7 separate regions of the Homo sapiens genome follow, and all the other regions are linked to region 5. The links are contacts of gene promoters, found by promoter capture Hi-C in blood cells and fetal thymus (Javierre and others, 2016). All regions are on one chromosome and are shown on one strand. Each heading gives the region's core, a stretch centred on a gene start or on the middle of the fragment in contact. The rest is flanking DNA. Distances are from core to core; before and after follow the strand shown. Region 1 overlaps SMLR1 (small leucine rich protein 1). Region 2 has its middle 18 kb from the start of SMLR1. Region 3 has its middle 110 kb from the start of SMLR1. Region 4 overlaps EPB41L2 (erythrocyte membrane protein band 4.1 like 2). Region 5 holds the start of TMEM200A (transmembrane protein 200A). Region 6 has its middle 150 kb from the start of SMLR1. Region 7 has its middle 180 kb from the start of SMLR1.

Region 1 (2,700 bases), core at 48-2,547, 460 kb before region 5:
GGTTGGCAGTAATAGTGTTTCTAGTCATTAGTATTCTTTCCAACAATAAATTTCAGATGGGACCCCCATTGCGTTAAGTAACGGATGCACACATTTTTGTTCTGCCATGGTAAATAGCTCCTTCTGCCTCCTCACTCACTCTTCCTGTAATTCCTACCTGCAGCCTGGAAGCTCCAGGCACACTTCAATTAGAGCAAGCCCAAGTAGGAGACAATGGGGAAAAACCACAGAAAATGGAGGCTCATAACCTGGCTGGGGGTGCCCCTTCACTGTAGAGGATCCTGCCTCTGGTGAAGTGCTCAGCCCTGACACTGAGGGAAAAGTCCAGGTTATTATTATAGCTCTTTGATCAGACATTTAATGAGGCCAGAATCAGAAACATACAGATTTGCAACACCTCCTCTAACTTCTGCTGATTTTGCCAGATGCCTTCTGTGGTTTTCTAGAACTGGGATTATTTTCTCTTAGTCTTAAAAACTCATAGTAAAAATCTGTCCCAGTATCTGGGACAGTCTGTGGTATATGATAGACTAACAAATATTCGTTGAATAAATGAATGAGAATTATCGCTATCCAGAATATGACATAAGTTTGGAGTAAGCTTTAAAGTTGGTGTAATGACTCTACCCAGTGAGCATGGACCCTCATCGTGTGAGGCTGACATGCTTGCTTTCCCTTGGGTTAGATCCTATGCTACAAAAATAAAGGCTCTGAGATGGAAGGGACAGACTTAACAGTTGTGGGCAAGTCTAGAAGTCAAGAAAAGCTCAGTAGCATGTCAGAATTTGGAATGAAGAAAGGGGAAGGAAGTGTGAAGAAACAAGAGGTTATTGGGAGCCTCTGCTCCCTTCACTCAAATCCTTCAGAAGTAGTTTCAATTGTATTGAGTTACAAACTTAAGGTAGTAACTTTTTTCTGAGACTTGATCTCTAGATAACTTGCACGGGCAGGGAAGTGCTGAAGATAGGAGGGCATCAGCGTGCAATCATCACAGAGGTGTACACACATGGAGCACTTCCTCTGGGGCTGGCACTTGGACTGCATTTCCCCTGCATCAGCCCCTGTGATGCCAGGCCATACCCTGCACGTTGACTTTTCCAGGGTATTCTAAAGCAATGTGATTCATACATTTATACCTCAGAATTATCTAAATAAAATACCATAGACCCATTTACATGTTACATATTACAGATGTTTTTCCAGGAATGAGTAAAACTATAAAACAGATTCACCCTCTTTTTGCAGAGTCTATCCCAAATACCAGATGTCCCACTGAATTAACTGGCCTGTAATAGCTGTGAAGTAGAGGCCAATAAGGGATCTTGATATCCATGAGGCTATCTAGACCTGTACTTGCTGCAGTTTTTGAAATACTGAAAATTTCATCCAGCCAGAGATGAAACTTGGAAACTACAGGAAGTCTCCAAGTCCCCGATGATGACATCAGCATCGTTTTATTGTCCCTGGGACGTTCAATGTCAATGGGAGGCTGAGATGCAGTGAGTGTTACGGATGGGAATCTTTGCAACAACTCTGAAAAACATTTCGACTTGGAAGACACTGAAGGGAAGCCATGGTTATGATCTTGGGGATTTCTTATTTTCTCTTCCTTTTTGGAGGCTACTTCCGGGGTTCAGTGGTAATGAATGGCTGGGTGACAAGAGCATCCAACAGACTGGTCTTAGGGCAGTGGAGGATAAACTGACTTAACAAAGAAAAGGATTTATCACATGAATATTATAGAGTGAGGCAGAATATGGCTTGACCCCTCAGCAAAAGGGCTGTTCATAAAAATGAGACACACGAAAAATGAAAGGCTAGGGGCATATTTGAGTAAGTTGTGATGAAAAACTTGATTCCATGACATACTGTCTGTGTCTCCTAGGATTTCTTTATGTTCCAAATCTCATCTTAGGAAGAAATATCCCTCATTGCACTTCTGTTAGGTTATATATTATAGCATTAGTGATCTAAGATTACCACAAAAGCTTGGCAAGTCCAAGAAATGCCTTCATGTATGTTATTACATAAACAGATGTTCAAAGAGGAGGGTTTTTCAAATTTGTTTTAATATGACACTATCCAAATTAAGAAATATGACTGGTCTTTGTTGATTTTGCTAAAATAGTTATTAACCTTGATGATATTAATCTCATGTGTACTTGGCACAGTATTAACACATAGTCTATCTAGTTACAGCCCAGTTTCATTAATTTTAATTATAGCAGAATAAACAGTGTCAATCCAAGACCCGAATGTCCATTCCAAATCACCTTAAGCTTCCTGAGTTATTTGTTTGGTTTGGTTTTTTTCCACCTTAAGACTATAATCCCATGGAACGTTTACACCAAGGTCAAGTATTTATCTATCAGGGCTTTACATTTACAAAGACTGTGACAGCAGAATGTTTGGAACATTCCCTGACCAGAAGTTCAGTGGATGAGAAAGTTGTGTGTGTGCACACACGGGCGCATACACACGCACGGACATGCACACACATGGCCACATAAACACATCTGTCATGTAAAGAAGGCAGACCATGAACAATGTTTTCACATATGTGACTCTATTGCCTTGAGAGAGAGAGACAAGCAACCATATGTCAAAATTGCTGATTCACAGTATGTCTGTGAGGTGCTACACGTGAGGGCCCCCTACAGCAGACCTTCACATCTCAGCACAAGATCCACACAGTGGAAA
Region 2 (2,700 bases), core at 113-2,612, 440 kb before region 5:
TGTAAAAAAGAACCCATAATTTTTCTATTTCCCTTTAGGAAAAAAAAATCCTTGCAACTTCTGCAATATCCAGTTAATCCTCAGTGCTCATTTAAGCCTGAGCGTTTGCAGACAACTGACTAATCAGACTATTGGTTTACACAAGCCCTTCTTTCTGTCAGAAGGCTGCCGCTTAGAGATTCATGGCTACCATATAGACTACGTTCTTTCCTTAGCAGAGCGAGTTTAAAGCGCAAGTCTGTATTAATCACTAGGGGTAACTTACCAGGCCATCGCTAGAATTTTTTGCCAAAGTAGTAACGTCAAAATGACAGTTGTTTGTATAAAGAAACGAGGAGCTCATTTGCACAGCTACTGGAGGCAATGGGAGATTAATGTGTGTTGTCAGTTCTACAGGTTTAATTTGACTTGGGCTAAAATAGCATCGATACACATCTCCCCTTGCCATTAATTCCTCCTGAATGCTGATTAATTTACTCTTATTTCATCCTGAATACTGCCAGGCAGTAATGAGTTGTAGCCATCTGGCAGTTCTGTTTTATCTTCCCCACTCACCTAAAAAAGAAGCAGAGATGGGGACATTCTTTTCCTGGGCATCTCTCCAGCTGCTTAGGGTTCCTAACCTTCCTCTTGGGAATGCAGGGCAAATGTTGGTCCAGACAGTGCATTCCTGAACTGGCATGCAGTTTTTCTGTCATTGCTGGTGAGCAAAAGCCTCCTGTATGTCAGAACTGGAGGGACGCATAACAGGGTCTGTATGTCAGAATCAATGGTTAAGCCATGTAAAAGGATATTTGCAATGTACAGCTATTGCTACAAAGTGGCATTTTATAGATACATAATAACACGAAGTAACAGAGATAAGACTCTATAGACACATAAAGCAATACTGTTAATATTGTCAACTCTTCAAAGAGCAGAAAACCATCTGGTCTCAATAATTACTTCCACATATAGCTTTTTTCTTTTCATAACATTTTCAGAGTAGTCAGACATATTAACTCATTATGGGCAAAATAATAGTAAATAAAACTGACAAAATCGATTCTATTTCAAGGATAATGTTTTTTTAAAAATCAACTTTATTGAGGTGTAGTTAACATACAGTAAAATGTAACCATGTAAGTTTGTATTTCAATGAATTTTGACACATTCACATACTCAGGTAATCATTACCACAATCAAGATATAGAATATTTCTATCATCCCCCAAAATTGTTCTTGTGCCTCTTCACACTCGTCCCCACTCCTGACACCAGGCAAACTGATATTCTGTCAATGTAAATTAAATTGATCTTTTCTAGAATTTTATAGAAATGGAGTCTTACAGTATGTATGCTTTTGTGTCTGGCTTTTTTGCATAGCATAATTTATTCATGTGTTGCATCTTTCAGTAATTAATTCCTCTTGATTGCTGAGTAGTATTTTATGCCATATCATTCCATATCACTATGGATATGCTGTAATTTGTTTATCTATTCACCTATTGATGGACACTTAATTTTCAGTTTTTGGTTATCATGAATAAATTTGCAGACAATTTGTGTAGACATATATTTTCATTTCTTTTGAGTAAATACTTAGGATTGGAATTGCTGGGTCGTATGGTAAGTGTATGTTTAAAATTATAGGAAACTGTCAAACAGCTTTCCAAAATGATTATACTATTTTGCAGTCTCACCAGCAATGTATGAAGGTGCCAGTTGCTCACTGTCCTCACCCATACTTGATATTATCATCTTCTTAAAATTTTATATATGCTAGTAAGTATGTAGTTTTATTTCATTGTGCATTTAATTTGAATTTCCATGTGTTTTAAAATATAAAATTTTATTATCTTTGAGGTATGGCAAGGACAATGGATCAGGATGACTGCCATTAAAAAGATACTTTGAGCCAGGCACAGTGGCTCATGCCTATAATGCCAGCACTTTGGGAGGCCGAGGCAGGCGGATCACTTGAAGTCAGGAGTTCGAGACCAGCCTGGCCAACGCGGAGAAACCCTGTCTCTACTAAAACTACAAAAATTAGCTGGCCATGGTTGTGGGCACCTGTAATCCCAGCTACTCAGGAGGCTGAGGCAGGAGAATTGCCTGAACCCAGGAGATGGAGGTTGCAGTGAGCCGAGATCATGCCACTGCACTCCAGCCTGGGCGACAGAGCGAGACTCTGTCTCAAAAAAAAAAAAAAAAAAAAGATAGTTTGTTGTCACTTGTGAGGTGCTTTTCATATGCAAACCAACCAATTCAGAGCCCCACCCTCAACTATATGTTTTGTAGAATTTTGGTTTCGTTAGACTGCTATCTTTGGGAATTAGCATTAGGTAGCCCTAGGAGGAACAGTCCCCTCCAAGGTCAACAAGATGTCAAAGCATCAAAACTACAGAATAAAAAAAACATGATGAATACATCTGATTACTAAAGATGTTGAGCATCTTTCCATACTCTTGCTGGTTACTCATATAACTTCTTTTGTAAAATGTTCAAACCTTTGCTCATTTTTTATTGTGTTACCTTCCTATTGAGTTTTAGCTGATTAAGTTCTTTTTTAAAAAAAAAAAATAATTTTTTAAAAATTTAATTAAGACAAGATCTTGCTCTGTTGCCCAGGCTGGAGTGTAGTGGTGCAATCATGGCTCACTGCAGCCTCAACCTCCCTAGCTCAAGCAGTCCTCCCATCTCAGCCTCCCAAGTACCTGGG
Region 3 (2,700 bases), core at 65-2,564, 350 kb before region 5:
TTTTTTGGACTTTCGGGCCATATGGTGTCTGTCTGTCCTGTCAACTAGTCAGTTAAGCCACTGAAACATAGAAGCATCCGTGGCAGTACATAACCACCTGAGTGTGACCATCTTTCCATAAAGCTTTGCTTAGAAACACACGTGGCAGGCCAGGTTTGGCCTCTGGGCTGTAGTCGCTGACCTTTGACCTAGGAAGTGTCTGTTCATAAACTGAGATGTTAAAGAAAATGCTATTGATGTAGTGATTTGAATGTGAGAAGGTTGGATTCTAATGGGTCTGTGAACCTCTCCACATGTGGGCAGAGGAGATTCACCTACTGCTTATAAACATGCAGCCGATGCATTTGAAAAAAACACAAAATGCTTGCTCTATCACCATCGCTGCTCTTTGCAGAAATCCTATCTCAACTCCTGACAGCGTAGAAAGATGGGAGGTGGGGGAGGGGTGGTTGCCAGGAGGAAAGTCTCATTGCCATGGAAACAGCTTTCTGCATTCCTGCATTGGTCTGTGAACACCAGGTGGTTCACAAACAACCAAGAAGCCTCTGCCTTACATTATGAAGATAAAACTGCTTTTGACAACATTCAGAAAAATGCATATGCCTTGGCCACAGGTCCATGGGTTTCCGAATGATTTCTCACATACCTGAACATCACTGTTTTCTGAACAGCCTTGGGGAACATTTTTTCTTTAACTGATTAAGCACAGGAAACAACAGTGATTGAAATTTTAGATATTCTTTCTTTCCTTTCAGACTGTAGGTTAATGCTAGAAAAGCGTGGCTAATCAGATTTACCATTTCTTCACACTTTATTACTTCAACAAATGAGACAGGGAAACCTTCCTAATATCCAAAGCGTTCCAGGGTTTCATAAAACCGTTTACAAGATTTATTATTATTATTTTCTCCCCAGAGTTTCTTGCTCAATTTCAAATAGTAAACATCCCAATTTTGACCTTCTAAATGCAAAATGACTCTTCCTAATTGTCCCTCCCCCTTTATGCTGTGTGACAAATTGCAGATCAAATTTTTTGAGGTATAGCATGTAATAATTACTTTCTATAATTAATTTAATTATCAAACTATAAGCTTTTGTTTTCCTGCAAGGAGACACAGCTGGGGACTAAAAAAATTAGAGGCTAATGCTAGGTACTGGGAAATAGTGCCCAGATTAGAGGAAGTCCTCTCCAAGTATAGCCATGTGACACATAATGATGTTTTGGTCAATGTTGGATTGCATCTATGACCCATAATAAGATTATATCATAATTTTACTGTACCTTACCTTTTCTATGTTTAGATATGTTTAGAGACATAAATACTTACCATTGTCTTCCAGTTCCCTACAGTATTCAGTACAGTAACATGCTGTAAAGGTTTGTAGCCTAGGTAGGAGCAATAGGCTATACCATCTAGCCTAGGTGTGTAGTAGGCTGAACCAGCTAGGTTTGTGTAAGTACACTCTATGATGTTCATTTCATGGGCATCCGTGTGAAGAGACCACCAAACAGGCTTTGTGTGAGCAATAAAGCTTTTAATCACCTGGGTACAGGCGGGCTGAGTCCGAAAAGAGAGTCAGCGAAGGGAGATAAGGGTGGGGCCGTTTTATAGGATTTGGGTAGATAAAAGAAAATTACAGTCAAAGGGGATTTGTTCTCTGGCGGGCAGGAGTGAGGGTCGCAAGATGCTCGGTGGGGGAGATTTTTGAGCCAGAACGAGCCAGGAAAAGGACTTTCACAAGATAATGTCATCACTTAAGGCAAGGACCAGCCGTTTACACTTCTTTTGTGGTGGAATGTCATCAGTTAAGGTGGGGCAGGGCATTTTCACTTCTTTTGTGATTCTTCAGTTACTTCAGGCCATCTGGGCGTATATGTGCAAGTCACCGGGGATGTGATGGCTTGGCTTGGGCTCAGAGGCCTGACAGTTCATACCACAACTAAATCACCTAATAACCATTTCCTCATCTTTAAGTGATGCATGACTATACAAGGATGGTCATTTTTGGCTAGAAATATTATTGAAATTAAATTCTACCTTGGAGACATCAATTATTAGAAGAAGGCTAAATGCTCAGAGAAATATAAAAAATGTGTGTTGCCTCCATTTGACAACACCACTGACTATACATGTATTTTGGATTGTTTTTCCAGCAGCATCAATATTTTGATTCCTTTTTTATGTTCTGACTACATAATTTTCAGATATGACTTGCTAAGGTTAGGAGTCTAGAGGGGTGTTAGCAAATGTTGATCACATTCTGAGAAATCACAATACATTGCTTGACTTGAAGCTCGTGGGCCTGTGTGTAACTGAACATATGTCCTGGTTCCTTTATACACCCCTCTTTCCATTGTAGTAGTATCCTCAGAGTTTCAAAATGCTCTTTATATCCCACTTTCATGACTTCTGCTGTATCTGAATATCACTTGTTTTGTGGGTTGAATTGTGCCCTCCCAAAAGATATGCTGAAGTCCTAATCCTCAGTATGTGTGAATGTGACCTTGCTTGGAAATGGTCTTTGCAAGTATATTCACGTGAAGATGAGGTAGTACAGGGTAAGAGTGAACTCTAGGCCAATGACCAATGTCCTTACAAGAAGATGGAAATATGGACAAATATGGACACAGATACACAGAGAGAAGGATGTTATGTGAAGACTCAGACACACACACGCACACACACACACACACACACA
Region 4 (2,700 bases), core at 134-2,633, 510 kb before region 5:
ACATACTACTATTAGTTGAAAGTATGTGAGCATTTGTCTACGGGAGTGTTTTGACTTTACCAGAGTACCTTTTCAATTTCTGTCTTTGTTGTATCTTCATTTTACTGTTAATTCTGCAGGGGTTCTCGTTTATCTTTGAATTGTAATTCTTATTGAAAGTAAAATAAAAAAATTATGCATAAGTATATAATTTGACCACTTTTCCAAATTTCTATAATATGGGCTTTTATAGCTTTTTAAAAAAGCAGGAATAGTTTCTTTTTAAAAAAAAAAAATACATTGCATTTTCAAAGTGGCTGTAGTTTGAACAATTTTGAGAGTAGAGCAGAAAATTGGAAACCAAGTCATTTAATCTTTAATGGGTAAATAACTCTATTGTAATCCTCTTAACGTGTTGTATGAATTATGATGACTTAAATTTGCATAGACTATTCTCTCCTGAGTCTAAGAGATTATGTACATTGAGTTGTAAGGTACTTTTGAAGGTATGTCATTGGATAACGAAATGTGTGGCACTTCTTTAAATTCCCCAGTGATCTCTCACTGGGAAGGGCATCCCACCCACCCCCACTTCCCCAAGGGACGATGTAATCATAGAGATGGTAATGAAGTTAAGTCAGTCCAAAAGCTTTTTCCTCTGCTGAATATTGCAAGTGCCTACTCCCCTCACCCTCCTCACCTCACTTTCTGCGCTCCTCACCCTTCTTAGCTCACAGTATGAAGGGGCCCCTTAGGAGCGTCATTGATTTTTCTTTAAGATTTCTGAATAGTGACTGGGTGCGGTGGCTCACGCCTGTATTCCCAGCACTTTGGGAGGCCGAGGAGGATAGATCACCTGAAGTCAGGAGTTAGAGACCAGCCTGGCCAACATGGCAAAACCCCGTCTCTACTAAAAATATAAAAATTAGCTGGGCATGGTGCTGCACGCCTATAATCCCAGCTACTGGGGAGGCTGAGGCAGGAAAATCACTTAAACCTGGGAGGTAGAGGTTGCAGTGAGCCGAGATCGCGGCACACTGCACTCCAGCCTGAGTGACAGAGCGAGACTCCGTCTCAAAAAAAAAAAAAAACCTGAATAGTGGGGTTTATTAGGAATTATTCTCACACTTCTGACATGAGGGGGTGCTTCATGATGACTCTTGAATATTGACATTTCAAGTTTCTAAGGACAGTTCTGCTGTCCCTCAGGCAGGTTGGGAGCCATTGTTTAAGAGCCAGACACAGCAAAGTTAAATTTGCTTTAATGGTTTAATTTAGGGAGAAATAATTTTCACGTTGCTCATTGAGCTTTCAACTCTGAGTTTGTCTTCCTATTTTGAATTGTTTTTCTTTACCTGTTTCTTTTTGCAAAAAAAGGGGACAGGGTAATTTACTCTGTGGCATATTTAGCACGCCTGAGGGAATGAATGTGGGCTGCTGTCAGAATGTTTGTTGTACAGAGAGTTAAGGTGGTATTGAGGAGGGAGATTGTAGGAGTTGGAGTGGTGAGGGAAGGCCTTACAGAAAATGCAGACTATGAAGTGGGCCTCAGGGAGGTTAGAAAACTGGAAAGGCCCAGAATGTGCAGATAAGGGCAAAGAAGGGCCTTGGAGGCAGGAGAGGGAGGACTGCCCAAGCTGTAACACAGGAATAAGCATTTCAAGTGTAGGGGCCACTGAAGAGGCCATTCCGTGCAGAGAAAGGCCAAGGAACTACCTCAAGAATATATGAAATGGCGTTTGGGTGGGTCGGTTGTGCTCAGTTGGTGATCAGCCAAGCAGTTTTCACTGGTTTCTGGAGGTCGCAACTATCAAAGATTCTCAAGCAGGGTGGAAAAGCTGGCGCTCACAAACCTCTTCATAAGCCTGCTCCAGAATCTGTCAGAATTCTCATCTTTTCTTTCATTTTATGCTGTTCTGTTGTTCTTTCTTGTGTAACCTTTCCTTTCTTCCAATAGGTCACTGCTGTCTGTTCTGACTTATTGCTAATTCTTTGCTCTTCCTTTTCTGACCTCTCTAGAGCCTAGAAGAGGAGATAACATCAATTTTGTTTAGTGAAAAGGGCTTTTCTGATAGCATGAAAGCCACCTTCACTTCAGCCACCACTTGGACAGCAGAGGGCGCTGTTGTGAGCGCTAATGCACCTTCTGAAAAGCTTTCTTCCTCGCCCTTCTCACACTTGCTTGAGGTGCATTTTACTTTGTTTCCCCTGTTACTAAAAGCCACATATGAGAGAGATTTTCATTTTTTTAAATATTCAGGCACCATTCCCTCCAGTGCTTTCATTGGTGAAATTAATTCTTCCTGGGAGAAACATTCAAGAAACAATGACTGAATTGGAACATGAAGAAAAGATATAGATTGGATGTTTCTCCTGCTTCTTTGGTCAAAGAAAAAAAAAATCTGCCTAAATTCAGAGAATAATTTAAATCATTAAGTTCCAGAGTCTGGGCTGTTAAGCAGAGGGAAACCCTCAACCAGATATGCTTTGCAGAGTTGACATTTTCAAAACCCCAAATTTCAGGCATCCTCTGATGGCATGTTATTTTTAAAATTCTGTTTATATGGAAAAAATCTGAAGTGCCTCCCATGCTCCATGACATAATTGCTTTTGAATGACCCTAAGGAATTCCCTGAACTTGGGCAGAACCTATCCAGCTAATTGAGGTTAAGATATAACAATAATAATAATTCACTGATCTATAATAATAATGAAATGTGT
Region 5 (2,700 bases), core at 93-2,592:
TATGCAGTTGTCCATAACTACTTCTGAAGGTATTCAGAAGAGACAAGGCAAGAGACACTTTAGTCCAACATATTTAGTTTTTAAATACACCAGACTAAGGTGGACCGGACTAAGGCTGATTCCAATTAGTCAATTACCTGTATGTGCTGCATCTGCCTTTCTCTCCGACATTACCAATGCCCGGTACTGAACAATGAATTGTTATTTAAAAAAAACACACAAACACACACACATTTTTCTAAATCAAACAGCGGTAAATACACACAGAGAGCTTGCGCCTACACAATGTGAAGTGTTGGCTGGAACAATTTATAGCAAAAGAATGATTAATGAAGCAAATCTTAGAAGCCCTCAGTCCTTTCTCTTACAGACAAGACTACAGGGAGAAGAGTAGTGCTGAATTTTGCAAATAATTGCTTTGCCTCTCCATTTTGCCTGTGTAGATTCTACCCCATCCAGATACTGCTTTACGAAACCCTGACCATACTTTGCTCAATCATGAATTAACGCTGTGGACATTACAGAGAATGCTGACTCTCAGGAACCGAGACAAAGGAGGGTGTTGCTTGGAGAAACCCAGCCAGGCGCTCCAGTACTCCGGGTTCTTGGAGGCTGCCCCGCACGGCTTCTCTCGCGCTCCCGGGACTGGGGAGTCTGGACCTGATGGCGGACTTGGTTTATTTCCCAAACTTTAGGAGAGACAGCGTTTACCTAACTCTGGAGGCTGTAGCGGAGGGGAGGGGAGGGCAGAGGGCTGAAGAAGTGCCCGGTTTCGGCTGCGGTGGCCGCCCACCCACCTCCCCACTCCCGTCAGCACCCTTTCCTTCCCCTCACCTGTCCTGAGCACCGGGCCCTGGGGGTCGGGTCGCCTCTCCCTGTTCTCAGTCCTGGTCTCACTCCAGGAGCTGTCGGGACGTCGGGCGCCTCTGGAGGCGGACGAAGAAGGCGGCAGGGTCGGGGGCGTCAGCGGGAATCTCGGCCGCCGCGGGCAGCCGCGGTCTCCCTCCCCATCCCAGGGCTCGGGCGGCCACCGCGGGCGGATGAGTCAGGCGAGGGGGCGGGTGGCAAGGGGTGCAAGCGGACGGAGGGTGGGGGCGCCCCTATGCCCGCGCCGGGGGGGCACCGGAGGCCTCGGGGCAGGGGATGCGCCGCTGCCGGTGCTCACAGAGGGCCGCCGCCATCCGGGCGCAGAGTCCAGGCGCGCCTGCCCTCGGAGGGCACCGGGCGCAGCAAGCCGGGCAGGGGAGAGGGAGTCGCCGCTCAGGCGGCGCCGCCACCGCGTCCAAGAAAGACAAAAGGGACCGGGAACGGGAGGGGAAAAGTTTTCTGCTCGGCTCCAGATGGATCCCAGCCCCAAACCTCACGCCATAAAGCCCCGAAGAGGCGGGTTGGGGGCGGGGGCCGGGGCGGACTTCCAGGGGCGTGGCTGCGCGCCTGCGACCCCGGACCGTGCCAATCTCGCCGCCGCCCCAAAACCTGTGGGAAACCCCAGTCCTGCCACCCACTCCTCCTGGAGGACGCAGACAGGATCTGCTCTGCAGGAGCCCAGGCCGGCCGATCCGCGTCCCGGCCACAAAGTTGCACTTCGAGAGCCCAAATCACCCGCAGACAAAACCCATCTTTGGGAACAAAGTACCCGCTTGCAGGCGCTCTTCCCGGGCTGGAAGGCTGGCGTGCGGAAACGGACACACCCACCCGTGGGGCCCGCCTCTAGCTACCGCGGGACCACCGGTTACCGAGCCAGGGACCCGGCTCCCCCAGTTCTCCGGAGCGGCTGGGGAGCTCCAGCCGACTCGCAGTATTCCCGGAGCAGGCACCGCAGGACCCTGGCTCCACGCCCCTCGGACGCTTTCTCCTCAGATGCCGCCCGGCGGGCCGGGGTCCCCCTGGCGGGCTGCGCGGGCGCTGCGCGAGCTAAACCAAACCTGGCCGGAAAAGACGCGGCCAAGGCCCGCTCCGTCCACGCTTCCCGCCGGCCCGGCAAGGGGTTCCGGAGAACGGCTTGGGGGGGCGAGAACCATGGGCGGGGGAAATGGAAGACAGAGGGAACTGAAGCACGGGGGTCTTCGATGAGCAGTGCGGATGTTCGACTCCAAACATCAAAGCCAACGAGAGGTTCAGGTTACTCCTCCTTGACCCCAAACATCCAGTGAGTGGAGACTGGCCTGTTCACAGAGTAAAATATGTCGTCTCTAATTCGGCAAAGACGGTGATGACTGTATATATGCAGGCCAATTCCGTAAGTAAAGTTTCATGTAAAACTAATTACCGGATATTCCAACCACCCCCTGTGCAGGCCAGCCGCATGCACAAGGTGTGTGCTATGCTTGTGTCCCCTGGATCTGTTTTAAGTGATAGAAGGCAAGTATGATATTCTGGTGCAGTGTATTTGTTTATTTCGGCGTGTGATCTGTTTATCTCGTTTTCAAGAAAAGTTTGCTTCTGGGGGGGTATAAAATCCGTGTTTGGGGGGTGGGGGAGAGCCATGCAAAAATTTCCACATTAGAAAAAAAAGTCTTTAAAATCAGATATGGCAATGAGAAGAGACTGTAGAAATGGATTTCCTGTGGTATAACCTTCTTGCCTTGACTAGAAGAATTTAGAGATTGGGCACTTTTAGTGGAGATGTCACAATCAAAATGTTTTATAAAAAGAAAGAAAAGAAAACTAAAGGAGTTACGGTGGGGGAAGGATGAGTCA
Region 6 (2,700 bases), core at 145-2,644, 310 kb before region 5:
ACTCAATGCCTTTATGACCTATTCCTGTTATTGTTGTTATTATTTCACCATCGGGCTATTTATATCTTAGTGTGGGATGACTTAGGAAAATATTTCCCTAAGGTTTTTGGTCTCTCAATTAACATCAAACTGTTTGAGTGAAGTTTCATTGCCAGAATTCCCCAAACTACCAAGAAGTTCTATTCAGATTTTTCTAACCATAAATGAGCCTGTTTAGTGTTTCCCATGACCATATATCAAGATATTTTCAGTTTCAGGCTGGACTAGTACACAAAAGGACTTAAAAGCCACAAAGGAAAATCTGCCACCCCTTATGGCACTAGAGTTTTCAGATAAAATTTCTATAAAATGCTAGTTTGTATCTTAATGAACGTTAGACTGTTCTAATTATTTGGAGTCACATTACTATTTATCTTGTGGTAACGAAAGATTCCATTCAGATACAGTTTTTTTTCAGGGTACACCAGAAATTCTTAGCAGTGTTTCAGCCTTTAAGGAGAGGGAAGGGAGATTACTTTTTCCTTTTTGTACTATTTAAAGATATCCATGTATTACTTTTATAAAGTTTAAAAATGTACAATACTCATGTAAAGAAGTGAAAAATGCTTTGGGAGGCTGAGGTGGGCGGATCACTTGAGGCCAGGAGTTTGAGACCAGCCTGGCCAACATGGTAAAACCCTGTTTCTACTAAAAAAAAAAAAAAATACAGAAATTAGCTGCGCGTGGTGGCACATGCCTATAATCCCAGCTACTCGAGAGGCTTGAGGCATGAGAATCACTTGAACCTGGGAGATGGAGGTTGCAGTGAGATGAGATGCCCCTGCACTCCATTGAGCTACAGAGTGAGACTCTGTAAAAAAAAAAAAAAAAAAAAAAAAAAAAAAAGTGAAAAATGAGAATTGTAAATTCATCTTCAGGCGATTCAAGAATATGTTGTGATGAAGGATTTTCCAGGCAGCCTATATCTACAAGTTCAGACTAGTCTGAGAAGTAAGAATTAGAGCTGCCGGGCTACCATCAAGCATCCAATTTTCTGAGTAATCAACTTGGCAAGAAAGTAAAAATGAAGGGGTGCTCATGGTGAAAGTGACGAGGGAAATCAGCACTTTCACATTCAAAAGAATGTATGTCAGATATTCTAAAAGTTAAAATCACAGCTAACAAGAATATCCTTAATGATTTATTCCCTCAATAAATCACTTTGTTCTTGTGAAACAAATGCTGCAATGTACTTTCTTTTTAAATCTATGTCTCTGTCTCCTTTTGGCTGAATATTTTAACTCAGTTTTGCTCTTACTGCCTTAGTTTTCTAAATGCACATTTGAATCATTGTTCAATGGCAAAAGTCATATTACAAAGTGTTCCACGTCTGTGGCAAGGCTAAGGACCACAATTCCTGGGAACTGGAGTTGCACTTTAATCCCTCAAATTAGGGAGGAAAGGCACTGCTTACCCTGACATGAGAAAATGCAAAGTTATGATGTGGAAATAATCTTCGGGCACTTACTGAAGGGTTTATCAAGTGAGTAATTTGTAAAAGCTATACACATAGTATTAATGTTAGTTGAGTTTACCTCTGTACCAGGCCCTGTGCTAAGTAGTTGTATTAGTCAGGGTTCTCCAGAAAAACAGAACCAGTAGGATATGCATTTATCTATCTATATAAATATATATGTGTTAGTTATATAGATACATGGGGATTAATTATGAGGGATTGGCTCAAGAGATCATGGAGGTTGAGAAATCCCACTACTTGTTGTCTGCAAGATGGAGTCCAAAGAAAGCCAGCGTTGTACTTCCAGTCCAAGTCCAAAGGCCTGGAAAACAGGGGAGCCAATGTGTAACTCCCATCTAAGTCTGAAGGCCTGAGAATCAGTAGCTCTGATGTCCAAGGGCAGGAGCAGATGAATATACCAGCTCAAGAAGAGAGAATGAAATCACCCCTCATCCAACTTTTGTTCTTTTTGAGGACTCAACAGATTGGATGATGCCTACACATATTGGTGAAGGTGATCTTCTTTACTTAGTCTGTTGATTTAGATGCTAATGTCTTCTGAAAATACCTTCATAGACACACCCAAATATAATGTTTTACCAGCTATCTGGGCATCCCTTATCCCAGACAAGTTGACACATAACATTGACCATGAGAGTGCTTTAGCTGCATTATTTCCTTTCATCTTTACAAGTGATGTGATGGGAGGTTTTTATTTTCCTTATTTTATAGATGAGTTGAGAATCCCAGAGGAATAGTAACTTGTTTTAAGGTCACGTAATTAGCAAATGGCCAACCTCCAGGGTCTTAAAATACATAAAGACCCAAGCAAAAAACATTTTAATTTCTACCAAAGTTATTCATGCCCTTCCTCTTCCTACATCCCTTCTCTCTCATTCTTGTATTCTCCCAAAGTAAACTCCTTATTGTTCCTACATCTTTATTTTTTAGAGGACAAAACTCTTTAATTTCCCTTGTCTTTTCTCTCATATTTTCTGACTATCTTTTAGCTCTATATTCTGGGGGTTTAAAAAATTGTGTTCACTAATTATATTGGATATTTCTGCTGAGTTATTAAAATGTAACTAACCAAACTTAATCTTTCAGATGTATGGCAGACAGACTCTAAGTTGATCACTCCGTGATACTGCCTCCTGATGTTCATGCCTCTAAATGTGGACAGGCTGTCATTTGCTTCAAAACAA
Region 7 (2,700 bases), core at 134-2,633, 280 kb before region 5:
GGAGATCAATGCCTTTTGGGGCAAAGCATGTGACCATTTGAATGTTTATCATTGAGATTTACTTACAAATGAAATGATGCACCCCACCCAGCTCTATGAGGCCTGCAGCAGGAGCCGACTGCAGCAGTACTGGTCTTCCTCTCTCTGGGTCCAGAGGTTGAATAAACAAGGCTAGGAAAGCAAGTGGCCGTCGAAGACTGTCAAAATCATTACTATAAACTTACCTTTTTATGAGGATGAAGTCCTAAGGCAAGGCAAAATCAATGATAGTAGTACTGACAATCTCTAGAAACTGCTATAATAGACTTATTTTTAAAAATAACCACAACAGTTATAGCTATATGTGTTGGGATCTGTATTTACTTCTCCAGTTCAACTAATGTTCACCAAAGTAATTTTACATATTAGGAAGTGTAGCCTCAGAAAAAATATCTGCCCCTTATTGACAGCCTTTTGCATCACAGTAATTATAATGCATTTTCTAGTTAAGCACAGCTAGCTTATGAAGCGTGTATAGAGATATTCGCATTTTACAGATAAGGAAAGCCAGACTTAGAGTGTTACATGTCTCACTTAAGTCTGCACATCTAGTAAATAGCAGAATTGAGATGTAAAACCGTAAGGTCAGTTGAAAACCTGTGTTCTTTTTATCATGGCTATGTTTTGCTGCTAGAAGCATAAATCCATATTGGTCAATTATATTAGTTTCAATATTGAGTGATAAGGAACAAGTGAGACTTCTTTAAAACCTGAGTTAGATGTTAGAAAAGCTGCTCCTCCTACATTGTGTTAAGAGCACTCATGCTCACATCTTTCTTTTACCTTGTTATTTTTCACTCAATTCTGGTATATTATACTTTAGTGGATGGAATAGGCTTTGGGGCCAGATATAATTCTTCTGGAACTTACTAGGTCAATAGCAAAATCTCTGAGACCGTTTCCTCATATATAAAAGAGAGGTAACTTTTCACATTTCATATAAGGATTAGAAGTAATAAATGTAAAGCATCTAGCACAATTTGCGTAGCTCAAAAACCATAGCTATTATTGTGGCTTATGAAGTCACTTTGTCAAAGAGACTGGAGCCTGCTATCTGCTTACTTGCTTTGGAGGCCTATGTTAGTGTGTAAGGTTGTGAGTATTCTAACTCCAGCCTTGCCGTGCCCCAGACCTATACATATTATGCATGCATATCACTGCAAGTCTCAAATACAACATACACTTTTACAAATGTTCTAAAATAGTGTACATTTTATAAAGCTCTAAAGTAAACATTGGATTTATCTGTGGACTCTGACACTGAATAGCAGATTAATAGAAAGATCTTCATTGAAAGATAGCAATCAAAGAAATAGAATACCCCACAGATCTGTCTGTTGACATATCCATAAAATAAAATTAAACAATTACAGGTTTTTATTTCAGAGACTAAAGGTCTTCAAGGTTTTTTAATAATATAATATAAAATGTAACAACAAATAAGTACCTAATATAAGTGGCAATATGTTGTCTGGCACAAAATTACTTGCAATAGATTTTAATATCGCAAATTGTTACTAGTAATATCTCATATATATGTATATATACACATATATATACAGTACATGCCAACACAAAATTAATATAAGTAGACTAACTCTTCAGAATATTTAGCTGTAGAGCTTAAAAAAGTCCAAAGGAATTTGGCAGCACACTTCCATTGCCCTGATGCAAGTCAACTGCACAATGCTTTCTTTTCCCAACTAATCATTTTTTAAAATTTTATCATTTCTGTCTCTTTTCCTCTTCCTGCTGATTTTTAGCATAGCTGAAAATTATGTGGGGTCTTATAAGTGAGTCATGGTTTTTAAAAGAATGTAGAATAATTTTGGGAGCATTAATTTAAGCTGACTGATAGAAGAATATTATATTTTGACTGCATTTTGCTTTCTATAAATAAAAGCATTCCAAAAGAATGTGGAAATACTGAAGGGAAAGAAAAGGAACACATTTGAAATTTGAAAGGGCAAATACCTAAAGGATAGTAAGTCTCCAAACTAATCAAACCACAACTCAGAGGGGAAATAAATGCACCTCAAAAATCCTTCTCTGTGTTTGTTTTCAAGATTAAAGCTGAACAAAAGATAAATAATACAGGATGAATGAAATGAACTGAGTCTGAAAAGTTTTAGAAGGTCAAGTAGGAGAAATTCAAAGAAAAAAAGATTATTTCAAACTAGTTAGGCTTTTCCTTTTTATAGCCAACTCTATGGGTATTCCTTTTCTGCTTCTTTTATGGTGAACACAACATTTATAGACTTCTGCTCTTCTATGGGCAAATATTACTCAAATTATCATCTACCTGAGAGAGTGTAAAATGAACATTTTGTATTCTATACCAGTTTTACCCTAGGTTCAATATACTTCAACACATAATAGCTTCCATTCTCATCTGTCAGCATATGGTGTTGATCATACGGTGCACAGTAAGACAGACACAAGGTTTCCAAATGCCATGAAGTATTTTAGAGGCCCGAATTTTACAAAATAAAAAGTCACATTAGAGCCCTGTTGCTAGGCAAGTCGAACCCAGCTGTGCTCAGTCTCTAACAACAGGACACTTCATTCACTGCTCTACAGTGAACATCGATGTCGCTTAGTAGGAGTGAAACCTATTACCCAAAATGCCAGGATGACAGATCTCTTCAGAAATGCTCTAGA

Evidence for each region. Contacts are between HindIII fragments. The CHiCAGO score rates a contact against its expected background, and 5 or more counts as called.
Region 1: a fragment that was not itself captured here is called in contact with the fragment with the promoter of TMEM200A in region 5 in 4 of 17 cell types (total CD8 T cells, naive CD8 T cells, erythroblasts and 1 more); the score reaches 6.3 in total CD8 T cells.
Region 2: a contact is called between a fragment that was not itself captured here and the fragment with the promoter of TMEM200A in region 5, in 1 of 17 cell types (megakaryocytes). The highest score is 6.8, in megakaryocytes.
Region 3: a fragment that was not itself captured here is called in contact with the fragment with the promoter of TMEM200A in region 5 in 7 of 17 cell types (megakaryocytes, activated CD4 T cells, non-activated CD4 T cells and 4 more); the score reaches 12.5 in megakaryocytes.
Region 4: a fragment that was not itself captured here is called in contact with the fragment with the promoter of TMEM200A in region 5 in 1 of 17 cell types (megakaryocytes); the score reaches 5.0 in megakaryocytes.
Region 6: a fragment that was not itself captured here is called in contact with the fragment with the promoter of TMEM200A in region 5 in 5 of 17 cell types (megakaryocytes, activated CD4 T cells, non-activated CD4 T cells and 2 more); the score reaches 8.8 in megakaryocytes.
Region 7: a contact is called between a fragment that was not itself captured here and the fragment with the promoter of TMEM200A in region 5, in 1 of 17 cell types (megakaryocytes). The highest score is 5.5, in megakaryocytes.

What each region holds. Positions count from the first base shown.
Region 1 is chr6:130,827,830-130,830,529 of GRCh38, reverse strand. The region is part of intron 1 of SMLR1 (small leucine rich protein 1); the gene reads right to left. Among named protein-coding and RNA genes, the nearest start is that of SMLR1, 1.8 kb to the right of the region's middle. The HindIII fragment of the contact is 1,387 bases long and covers 604-1,990 here.
Region 2 is chr6:130,808,327-130,811,026 of GRCh38, reverse strand. No RefSeq gene overlaps it. Among named protein-coding and RNA genes, the nearest start is that of SMLR1, 18 kb to the left of the region's middle. The HindIII fragment of the contact is 4,039 bases long and covers 1-2,700 here.
Region 3 is chr6:130,711,072-130,713,771 of GRCh38, reverse strand. No RefSeq gene overlaps it. Among named protein-coding and RNA genes, the nearest start is that of SMLR1, 110 kb to the left of the region's middle. RefSeq lists an enhancer at 1,547-2,061. The HindIII fragment of the contact is 442 bases long and covers 1,094-1,535 here.
Region 4 is chr6:130,871,837-130,874,536 of GRCh38, reverse strand. The region is part of intron 14 of EPB41L2 (erythrocyte membrane protein band 4.1 like 2); the gene reads left to right. Among named protein-coding and RNA genes, the nearest start is that of SMLR1, 46 kb to the right of the region's middle. The HindIII fragment of the contact is 1,505 bases long and covers 631-2,135 here.
Region 5 is chr6:130,364,659-130,367,358 of GRCh38, reverse strand. It overlaps TMEM200A (transmembrane protein 200A), which reads right to left and starts at 1,342. Exons shown (of 3, transcript NM_001258277.2): 1 at 835-1,342. It also overlaps a transcript of SAMD3 not described here. RefSeq lists a silencer at 1,809-1,908. The HindIII fragment of the contact is 9,800 bases long and covers 1-2,700 here.
Region 6 is chr6:130,678,651-130,681,350 of GRCh38, reverse strand. No RefSeq gene overlaps it. Among named protein-coding and RNA genes, the nearest start is that of SMLR1, 150 kb to the left of the region's middle. The HindIII fragment of the contact is 7,610 bases long and covers 1-2,700 here.
Region 7 is chr6:130,646,626-130,649,325 of GRCh38, reverse strand. No RefSeq gene overlaps it. Among named protein-coding and RNA genes, the nearest start is that of SMLR1, 180 kb to the left of the region's middle. The HindIII fragment of the contact is 3,144 bases long and covers 1-2,700 here.